3 separate regions of the Homo sapiens genome follow, and all the other regions are linked to region 1. The links are contacts of gene promoters, found by promoter capture Hi-C in blood cells and fetal thymus (Javierre and others, 2016). All regions are on one chromosome and are shown on one strand. Each heading gives the region's core, a stretch centred on a gene start or on the middle of the fragment in contact. The rest is flanking DNA. Distances are from core to core; before and after follow the strand shown.

Region 1 (3,229 bases), core at 411-2,910:
TCTCTGTTCCAAGTTCTGCTTCTAGGGAGCCCGACCTAAAATAGGAAGGGTCTCTTTATAGAAATATTTCAGCTAAAATCCCAAAAAGAGGAAAACAGAAAGAGTCTTTGCTTTCCCTTGGACAAACTTGAATTGAAATTGAACCCAAATTCCAGGATGCTTTTCTAGAATTAGTTACCATCTTATAGGAACCACAGAGTAAAGAGATAATGTGTTAATGACACCACTGAGATCCAGACTGTAGGAAAATACAGAACAAATGACTATTTCATCAATAATTAAAGAAAAAATTAAAAAATGAAAACCCACAGATTAAAAGAAATTTAGGAAATTTGGCAACCAATCAAAATGCGCATATCTTATTTGTATCTTGATTCAAACAAACTGTTAAAAAAAACTATAATACAATTGGGTATTTGAACACAGATTAGACATAAAATGATATTAAGGAATTGTGAATTATTAAATGTGACAACAGTATTGTGGTTATATGCTAAAAAGAAGAAAACCCTTATCTTGTAGATACATACTTTGAAATATTTATGCCTAAAGTGATATTATGTCTAGAATTTGCTTCAGAAATAATTTTAAGGTTGGGAAGCGGGTAAGATAAAGACGAAATAAGATTGGCCATGAGTTGTTAACTGTGGAATCTGAGTGAGGACTAGTACATGGGGTTTGCATTATACTATTCCATTTTTCCAAATGTTCGAAATTTTCCATTAAAGTTAAGATAAAGTTAAACTATAAAGACTGTTTCTTAAACAAAAAAGGGGCCGGGCGCTCACGCCTGTAATCCCAGCACTTTGGGAGGCCGAGGCGGGCGGATCACGAGGTCAGGAAATCCAGACCATCCTGGCTAACACGGTGAAACCCCGTCTCTACTAAAAATACAAAAAATTAGCCGGGCGTGGTGGCGGGCGCCTGTAGTCCCAGCTACTCGGGAGGCTGAGGCAGGAGAATGGCGTGAGCCCGGGAGGCGGAGCTTGCAGTGAGCCGAGATCGCGCCACTGCACTCCAGCCTGGGCGACAGAGCGAGACTCTGCCCCACCCCCCAAAAAAAGGAACAGAACAGAAAGGTATTAAGAAGAATTAGAAAAAAAATCCACTGTCCTTGACTCATTTCCTGTCCCCCCCCAAACGTTCTGGTGTGGAGAAAAGGATGAGCATTGGTAACAAGTACCACAGTTTGCCATTGGGGTGGGCGGGACTGATGCTCTCTTTATTTAAATTTTTGACATCTTGCTCATCATAAATTTTCTTGCAATAATTGTTTTTTAAAATGTTGCATTAAAATGTTATTTTTCTTGACTGCTGAGGAATTTTGCACCCCTTTAAATTCTGCGCCCGCGTCCTGGTTGGGAGATGTGGGGAAAATCCTGGGAGCCCAGGACAGGGAGAGGCAAGTCCCCACAGAAGTGGGAATGGCCAACAGCTCCCTGAGAAGACAGCTTCCCTCTTGGGGAGGCAGAGGAAGTCCCAAGAATACACAAAGACAGGAGAGTGGAAGGGCCGGCCAGTCTGGAGATACTAAAAGAGACTCCGGATGAGGATAGGGGCTGACCCGAAAGCCCCGCCTGACTCCGGGCTGCAGGAGGGGGCGTGGGACGGGGGCGGAGCCGTTGGCGATGACAACAGCCCCACGTGACCGGCCAACACTGAGTGTTGTCTCGCTCTGGCGTCAGAGCCGTCGTGGCTCGTTCCATTCTCGGCGGTGGTACCTGCTCCCGGTGGCCCTGAGGACGTGTGGGCCAGGGGCGGCCCCGAAATTAGGAAGCGGAGGGGGAGCAGGTAAGGAACCCGGCGGGGGGTCCCTGGGGTTGGTGTGAGGGAGTGGCTCCGGCCTGCGGATGCCCACCCCGGGGGAGCCGTGCGGAGAAGCAATCGGTCCGCGATGCAGCCCCCGGGCCCCGCGGCGGGCCCGCGAGCCTTCCTTGAGCGGAGAGGTGCCCGGCCCGGAGGGAGCCGGCGGTCCTGGGGCTACGACCCTTCGGAAACACCTGCCTACGCCATCAGCGCAAGCTTTTCCGACACCCCTGCCCCGCACTTCTTGGTGCAGAAAATGGTGGTCAGCTTGCGGGGCGGGGCGGCTGAGGCGGGGGGCGAGGGTGGCGAGGAGGGCCAGGGCCAGGGCCAGGGCCAGGGCCTCGGGGCGGGGCGGGGGAGGGGCCGGATGGCGGTAGTTCCTAGCTAGCGTTCTGCTGCAGCAGCCCCCACTTCCCCCACCCCGGCAGTCTGCAGGTCTGCGGGGCTAAGTGTCGCGGCGGCGCACCTCGCGTCAAGAATCCGGAGGAGGAGACTGCAAGGATAGGCCCAGGTCGGTGCGAGGGTCGGTGGTGAGGCGGGGGCCGGAACGTGAGGAAAGCCCAGTCTGAGACCCTAATCCATGCCTTCACCCTCGCCCCCCTCTACCCCATGCAACCCTCCCCTTCCCACACGCCATCCTCGTCCTCCATTTTGCTGCCTGCGGAAGCCTGGAGATGGATCTACAGGGAAAATGGTGGGCTTTGCGGAAGGGAGGGGCTCGGATTGAGGGCACCCCACAGGGCATACTGGCTTCTCAGGTGGAAAAAAATGAAATGTTAGAGTATAAAGTCAAGTCCAGGGCTCTGAATTTTAAAAGGTGCCTAGTAGGGCCTCTGTCCTCAGTGCTTATCAGTCCACCAAGAATTCAGCCCATTTTCTCTCTCTTGTCTCCTAGGAGTAATGGAGTCCAAAGAGGAACTAGCGGCAAACAATCTCAACGGGGAAAATGCCCAACAAGAAAACGAAGGAGGGGAGCAGGCCCCCACGCAGAATGAAGAAGAATCCCGCCATTTGGGAGGGGGTGAAGGCCAGAAGCCTGGAGGAAATATCAGGCGGGGGCGAGTTAGGCGACTTGTCCCTAATTTTCGATGGGCCATACCTAATAGGCATATTGAGCACAATGAAGCGAGAGATGATGTAGAAAGGTTTGTAGGGCAGATGATGGAAATCAAGAGAAAGACTAGGGAACAGCAGATGAGGCACTATATGCGCTTCCAAACTCCTGAACCTGACAACCATTATGACTTTTGCCTCATACCTTGAATCCTAAAAGTTTTCGCTGAGGTTAATGTGAACACTGCTTTACAAGCTTGTATTTTTGTGATTTACTTTTTCTGTAAGCCTTTTGGGGTTTACACTTACCAGTTTCTAATGGAAATTAGAATTCTAATTGAATATTGTTTTGTCTCAGCCTAAAAGTTAC
Region 2 (2,943 bases), core at 81-2,580, 280 kb before region 1:
TTAAAAAGATTTCAGCAATACTGTAGCAAATAACCTCTTACCTGGCTATTTTGTACATGTGAAAAATGTTTCATCCATTACATGCTTACACATCTATCCCTTGGGGCTTGATTTCAATAATTTAAACTCCCTTATATGTGTCTGAGCATTCTCATTCCTTTAACCATCTTTATACCTGTTGTAGTTACAATATTTAAATGCATTTATAACTGAGAAGTGTGTTTCCATTTCCTTGATGTATTTGGTCCCTCATCCTGCCCCCATACACAGACACACACAGAGCCACTTTTACCTTTTTCTTTTGCAAATTAAAAAAAAATTCTTATTCAGTTTTTTCTACATTGAAATTTTGTCAAACGATAGGTGATAAAAGTATATTTAGATAGTTGCATTTGCATTCCTTATATATTAGTGAGCTAGAATGCATTTTCTTATGATTATTGGCCATTTGCATTTCATCATCCATGAACCATTTATATATTTTGTCAGTTTTGCTGTTTTGTTATAGGATCTGTACGTGTGTTAAATCTAAAACCCTTCATTGATCTATGCATGCGTTATTTCAACACATCTTTCTTGGCTGAATATTATTTATGAGACACTCTAGAAAAATCCATATCCTAGATGTTTCTTCTGAGATCTTGGCTCTTATATTTATGGGAGATGTCCCCCTGCAGCAAAAAATGTGTTAGTGCCCATGCAAACATGCGTGGCTTGTCAAGGATCACATGCACAGACAGTTCACACTTACTCCTAAACCCGGCATGGCCACAGAGTAGAAAGGATGTGTGGGGCATTATATAAGGAGAGCACTGGCTCAGGATTGTGATTTCTGTGATCTCTATACTAACGGCAAGATTTTTAAAAATTACGTAACATTTCTGAGTTTGCCTTTTCTCATTTGTAAAATGAAAACAATCATAGCTACCAAAGACAATTGTTCTGAGAAGTAAAAGAACAAATTATTTTAAGCGTCATACACAGCGTAGGGTACATACGGTACTCAACACATCTTAGTCTGCTTCCTATCTCATACCCGTCCTTCCTTTAAAGGAGATTCCTTTGACATAATCCAAAAGGCATGGTTCCATAACGATCACATGAAAGTTTTAAGGGAAATGTATAGGTTTCCATGATGAATTAACTGCTGTGTCACTACTCTGTGCTGGGTAAGAAAAAGGAAAACAATCGCTGAACCGGTTTCCCAGGGTTTGTAAAAGAAAACCATCAAAGCCACCACCTCATTTCACTTTATTTCGTAGACTTCCCCATCCCATTTTTTATGTTCTATGCTAATTTCTCAAGAAAAATAGGCCCGGCACCGCCTCTGCGCACAACCTTGCTGGTCTGGCCCAGGCGGGGGGCGGGGCCAGCACGATGAGCGCCCCGGGCAGCCCCGACCAGGCCTACGACTTCCTGCTCAAGTTCCTGCTGGTGGGCGACAGGGACGTAGGCAAGAGTGAGATCCTGGAGAGCCTGCAGGACGGCACGGCCGAGTCCCCGTACAGTCACCTGGGGGGAATCGACTACAAGACGACCACCATCCTGCTGGACGGCCAGCGGGTGAAGCTGAAGCTCTGGGATACGTCGGGGCAGGGAAGATTTTGTACCATATTCCGCTCCTACTCTCGTGGTGCACAAGGAGTGATCCTGGTCTACGACATTGCAAACCGCTGGTCTTTCGAGGGTATGGATCGATGGATTAAGAAGATTGAGGAACATGCCCCTGGTGTCCCTAAAATCCTGGTGGGGAATCGCCTACATCTGGCATTCAAGAGGCAGGTGCCCAGGGAGCAGGCCCAGGCCTACGCCGAGCGCCTGGGCGTGACCTTCTTTGAGGTCAGCCCTCTGTGCAATTTCAACATCATAGAGTCTTTCACGGAGCTGGCCAGGATAGTGCTGCTGCGGCACAGGTTGAACTGGCTCGGGAGGCCGAGCAAGGTACTGAGCTTGCAAGACCTCTGCTGCCGCACCATCGTGTCCTGCACACCTGTGCATCTGGTGGACAAGCTCCCGCTCCCCATTGCCTTAAGAAGCCACCTCAAGTCCTTCTCCATGGCTAAGGGCCTGAATGCCAGGATGATGCGAGGCCTCTCCTACTCCCTCACCACCAGCTCCACTCACAAAAGGAGCAGCCTCTGCAAAGTGAAGATCGTCTGCCCACCCCAGAGCCCACCCAAAAACTGCACCAGAAACAGCTGCAAAATTTCTTAAGGAAGGCACCAAAAGGAAACAAGCTGGAATCGCTCCAGGAAAAACTCTGAATGGTTACACCTGGAAGAGGGAAGATGCATTCTAGATTCAAAGAAATACGTTTTCAGTTTCTCATGGGAACAATGCTGCTTGGGAATGTGTGTGATGCCTTCTGTCAATAAAAGCACTTTACGCAGTTTGACTTTGAATTTCTACGTGGATGTGCATGTGTTTATAAAGGGGAAATTAGTACTCTGCTTAACTCTTGATAACATGAAATTTTGAATGTTACTTATATCATAATCACACTGCATCTTTTTCCTTAAAATAACCGCTTTTGTAAGAATGGTGATATGACAGTGATGAGTATAAATTCAAGGGAATTTGAGATGCAATGATAGTGAGATCATTCCGAGTCATTGATATTACTAGAGGGGACTTTTTGTAAACCTCCTTTTTGATGTCAAAGCACCAATTTATAAAACACTGCAGATGCATATAGAGATTATACGTAACAGATCTGTCCAGTTTGTGCACGAAATGGATTTGATAAAGTTTTTGCTATGTTATTTTACTACATTTGGAGATTAATAAGTGATTTATATGTATGTTTTTCTGTAAATCTACTTTTTTGTACAAGATGTTCTACAAGATATGAAGCTAAGGGAGGAAAACGCCAAAGATATCTCTAGTTATGTTGAACATAGCCAACATGGTTTCAATGGGTCAGTAAGAAAAAAGCCATTTCAG
Region 3 (3,021 bases), core at 304-2,803, 410 kb after region 1:
GAAACCAACCCTTGATGAAAAAATAAGAAGGCATAGTGAAACTTGGTTTTAAAGACACATCTCACAGAGAAATTGGAAAGTAAAACAGTTATAAAAAAGATATGAAGGTAAACTAATATTTGTCTAAATGCTATCTCAACACAAAGTTAATCAGATATCAGAGAAAAGCAACAAACAGTTCTTAAAAGGGGAAATTTCACATGAATTTCTGTTCAGAAACTTACTAAACAGCCTGGCTTTAAAACAAAATCCCAGGATCCTCACAGATCAGATGGTCATCTACCCTGAAAGTGTAAAACACAGAGGGAAGGGAAGTAGTATGCTCTGTAGGGGAAAGAGCATCTGCATAAGAAAGTAGCATCCAGGCTGATGTGAGTAGATGAGAGGCAGGCATAAGGTTAAAGATCATAAAATACTGTTAGATAAAAAAAAATACATATTGCAATGACAATTGAAAATGCTAGCATAATTGTAGTCCTGCTATTCAGTATGTGGTCAACAGAATTATTGCATAGTTTAATATGGAATGCCCTCCCTGCTGCATCTATCTTTTGGGGTCCAGCAGTCCCAGAACTCAAATATTTGTTGATTTAGTGAATTAATATAAACTTCCTCAACCAGAAGCACCAAGAGGTGGCTGGTTAAGGATTGAGAGTCCCAGTAAAATCTATTTATTCTATTATGAATAACTACTGAATAATTTATATATATGTACACATGTATATAAATATATTTTATAATCTATTCAGTGTGTATACATGCATATATATGCGTGTATATATATACACGCATATATATGTGTGTATATATATACACACATAGAGAGAATAATGCCAAGCTCTCCACCAAGGACTATCCCATTTCAGATAATAAGTGTTCTGGACTGTTTGTACTTAGATGGACAAATACGTATTTGATTTATGAAAATCAAAGTATTCATTCTTTTTAGATCTACAAACTTTACAAACTCAACTCTTTCTACAGGTCTCGAACTGAATGATTACCAATTTAGATCTGGGGGCTCAAAAAAACAAAATGTGATGTCAAGAAAAAGTGAAAGATTGTCTCCCATGAAAGTGACAAGAGATGAAACATGCTGAATGAGCCTAAATGGACATGATGGAGATACGGATGTGGATTAAAACTGAGAGTGTTGGGATATAAGGATATAATACTGATTTATGAAGGTGAACAGTCAAACGTCAGTGCAGGATCTGAACTGCAGGGGAAATAAGGGGCCTTGGTGGCTAAGGAAGGGAGGAGGGGAGAAAGAGGTGGTACTAGGGGAAGTAGCACAGAGGAAGAGGCAATACTACCCGAGACTAGATGCGGACCGTCTCTGGCAACCAGGAAAAGGCAAATACAAAGAGAGGTGAGTGACAATGCCTGGTGTGTCTCGGGTCAGAGAACACTAGCAGGCACTAGCAGGTGGCTGCGGCAGGGCCGCAGATCAAAGTGGTAACTGGGGATCTGAGTTCGGCAGTGACGCGCGTCCCTCACGTGACCAGGAGCCTCTATGTGCCCAAGTCCCTCTCGTCCCGGTCTTTTTTTTGCCTGTCCACCATCTCCCTATTACCCTTTGGTCGAGAGGGAAAGCAGAAGAAGTAAGTTCCCTCTACCCTCTTAAATCGGTGTGAGTGTCGGCGCTGCCTAGTAACCCGGGGAATGGGGTTGACAGAATCGGGATGGCGGAGTCCAGGCCTTTCCCTAAGCTCCAGCCCCGCCCCCCGCGCCCACATTTCTGTGCAAAATATGGTGGTCTTTGGGGCGGGGTGGGGAGGCGAGTACCTCCCCCGTCCCCCGGGAGGGGGGTACAGACATTTGGAAATAGTTTCTAAAAATGCTTCGCTTCCACTTCTCATCTGAAAAGAAATGGCAAGCTTTGCGGGGTGGGGAGGTGGGAGCACGGAGGACGAAGCTTGACGCAGGGGCTGAGACGAAAAGAGAACCCGAGAGCTAGGGGAGCGTGCAGGCAGTGGCTGGTGCCCAGAAAGTGGGGGGTGGGGGGTGTCAGTCAGTCCGTCCCTCCTCCCCACTCCCCGCCCCCTACCCTGTCTTGCGTCTGTGTGCAGGTCTGCTGGTCACAGCGGGGCACCTCGAGGAGAGGACGACTAGGAGCACACGGCCCGGAAAGGTCCAGGTCAGGGAAGGGGTACGCAGTGGGCCGGGACTGGGGCGCGAGGGTGGACGCCGAAAGGCATGGAGTCTGCAGGCCGCACTGTCCCGCCCCTGTCACTGCGGGCGAGGCCTGTAGCAAAGCCTGCTGGGAAAATGGTGGGCTTTCGGGAAGGAGGGGGCGACCGGGAAGCGGCGGAGTCGGGAGAGCCGGAGAGCCTCTGGGAAAGCGCAAGGTTGAGGACCTGGCCCCCGAATCAGGAAAAGGCAGGTATTGGAACCCACGGCCTGGGTGTTAGTCCAGCCGCTTAGTATTCTGACTCTATTCTGCCTTTCTTGTCTCCTAAGAATAACTGTGCTTGAAGAAGAAAATTCCCAACATGGACAAACCACGCAAAGAAAATGAAGAAGAGCCGCAGAGCGCGCCCAAGACCGATGAGGAGAGGCCTCCGGTGGAGCACTCTCCCGAAAAGCAGTCCCCCGAGGAGCAGTCTTCGGAGGAGCAGTCCTCGGAGGAGGAGTTCTTTCCTGAGGAGCTCTTGCCTGAGCTCCTGCCTGAGATGCTCCTCTCGGAGGAGCGCCCTCCGCAGGAGGGTCTTTCCAGGAAGGACCTGTTTGAGGGGCGCCCTCCCATGGAGCAGCCTCCTTGTGGAGTAGGAAAACATAAGCTTGAAGAAGGAAGCTTTAAAGAAAGGTTGGCTCGTTCTCGCCCGCAATTTAGAGGGGACATACATGGCAGAAATTTAAGCAATGAGGAGATGATACAGGCAGCAGATGAGCTAGAAGAGATGAAAAGAGTAAGAAACAAACTGATGATAATGCACTGGAAGGCAAAACGGAGCCGTCCTTATCCTATTTAATGTGTTCGGCCTTTAATTCTGTTTTGCCTGCTAATAGTATTGCCAT

Evidence for each region. Contacts are between HindIII fragments. The CHiCAGO score rates a contact against its expected background, and 5 or more counts as called.
Region 2: a contact is called between the fragment with the promoter of RAB40AL here and the fragment with the promoter of BEX4 in region 1, in 2 of 17 cell types (M0 macrophages and monocytes). The highest score is 6.4, in M0 macrophages.
Region 3: a contact is called between the fragment with the promoter of TCEAL1 here and the fragment with the promoter of BEX4 in region 1, in 6 of 17 cell types (erythroblasts, fetal thymus, M0 macrophages and 3 more). The highest score is 10.1, in erythroblasts.

What each region holds. Positions count from the first base shown.
Region 1 is chrX:103,213,448-103,216,676 of GRCh38, forward strand. It overlaps BEX4 (brain expressed X-linked 4), which reads left to right and starts at 1,661. Exons shown (of 3, transcript NM_001080425.4): 1 at 1,661-1,791; 2 at 2,235-2,317; 3 at 2,702-3,229. The coding sequence starts at 2,707. The coding sequence ends at 3,069. The HindIII fragment of the contact is 8,756 bases long and covers 1-2,020 here.
Region 2 is chrX:102,935,942-102,938,884 of GRCh38, forward strand. RAB40AL (RAB40A like) reads left to right here and starts at 1,331. Exons shown (of 1, transcript NM_001031834.1): 1 at 1,331-2,359. The coding sequence starts at 1,378. The coding sequence ends at 2,214. The region is part of intron 10 of LINC00630 (long intergenic non-protein coding RNA 630); the gene reads left to right. The HindIII fragment of the contact is 15,007 bases long and covers 1-2,943 here.
Region 3 is chrX:103,627,422-103,630,442 of GRCh38, forward strand. TCEAL1 (transcription elongation factor A like 1) reads left to right here and starts at 1,554. Exons shown (of 3, transcript NM_004780.3): 1 at 1,554-1,604; 2 at 2,073-2,152; 3 at 2,464-3,021. The coding sequence starts at 2,496. The coding sequence ends at 2,975. RefSeq lists enhancers at 1,179-1,248, 2,120-2,414, 2,319-2,368, 2,439-2,508. The HindIII fragment of the contact is 2,900 bases long and covers 1-1,878 here.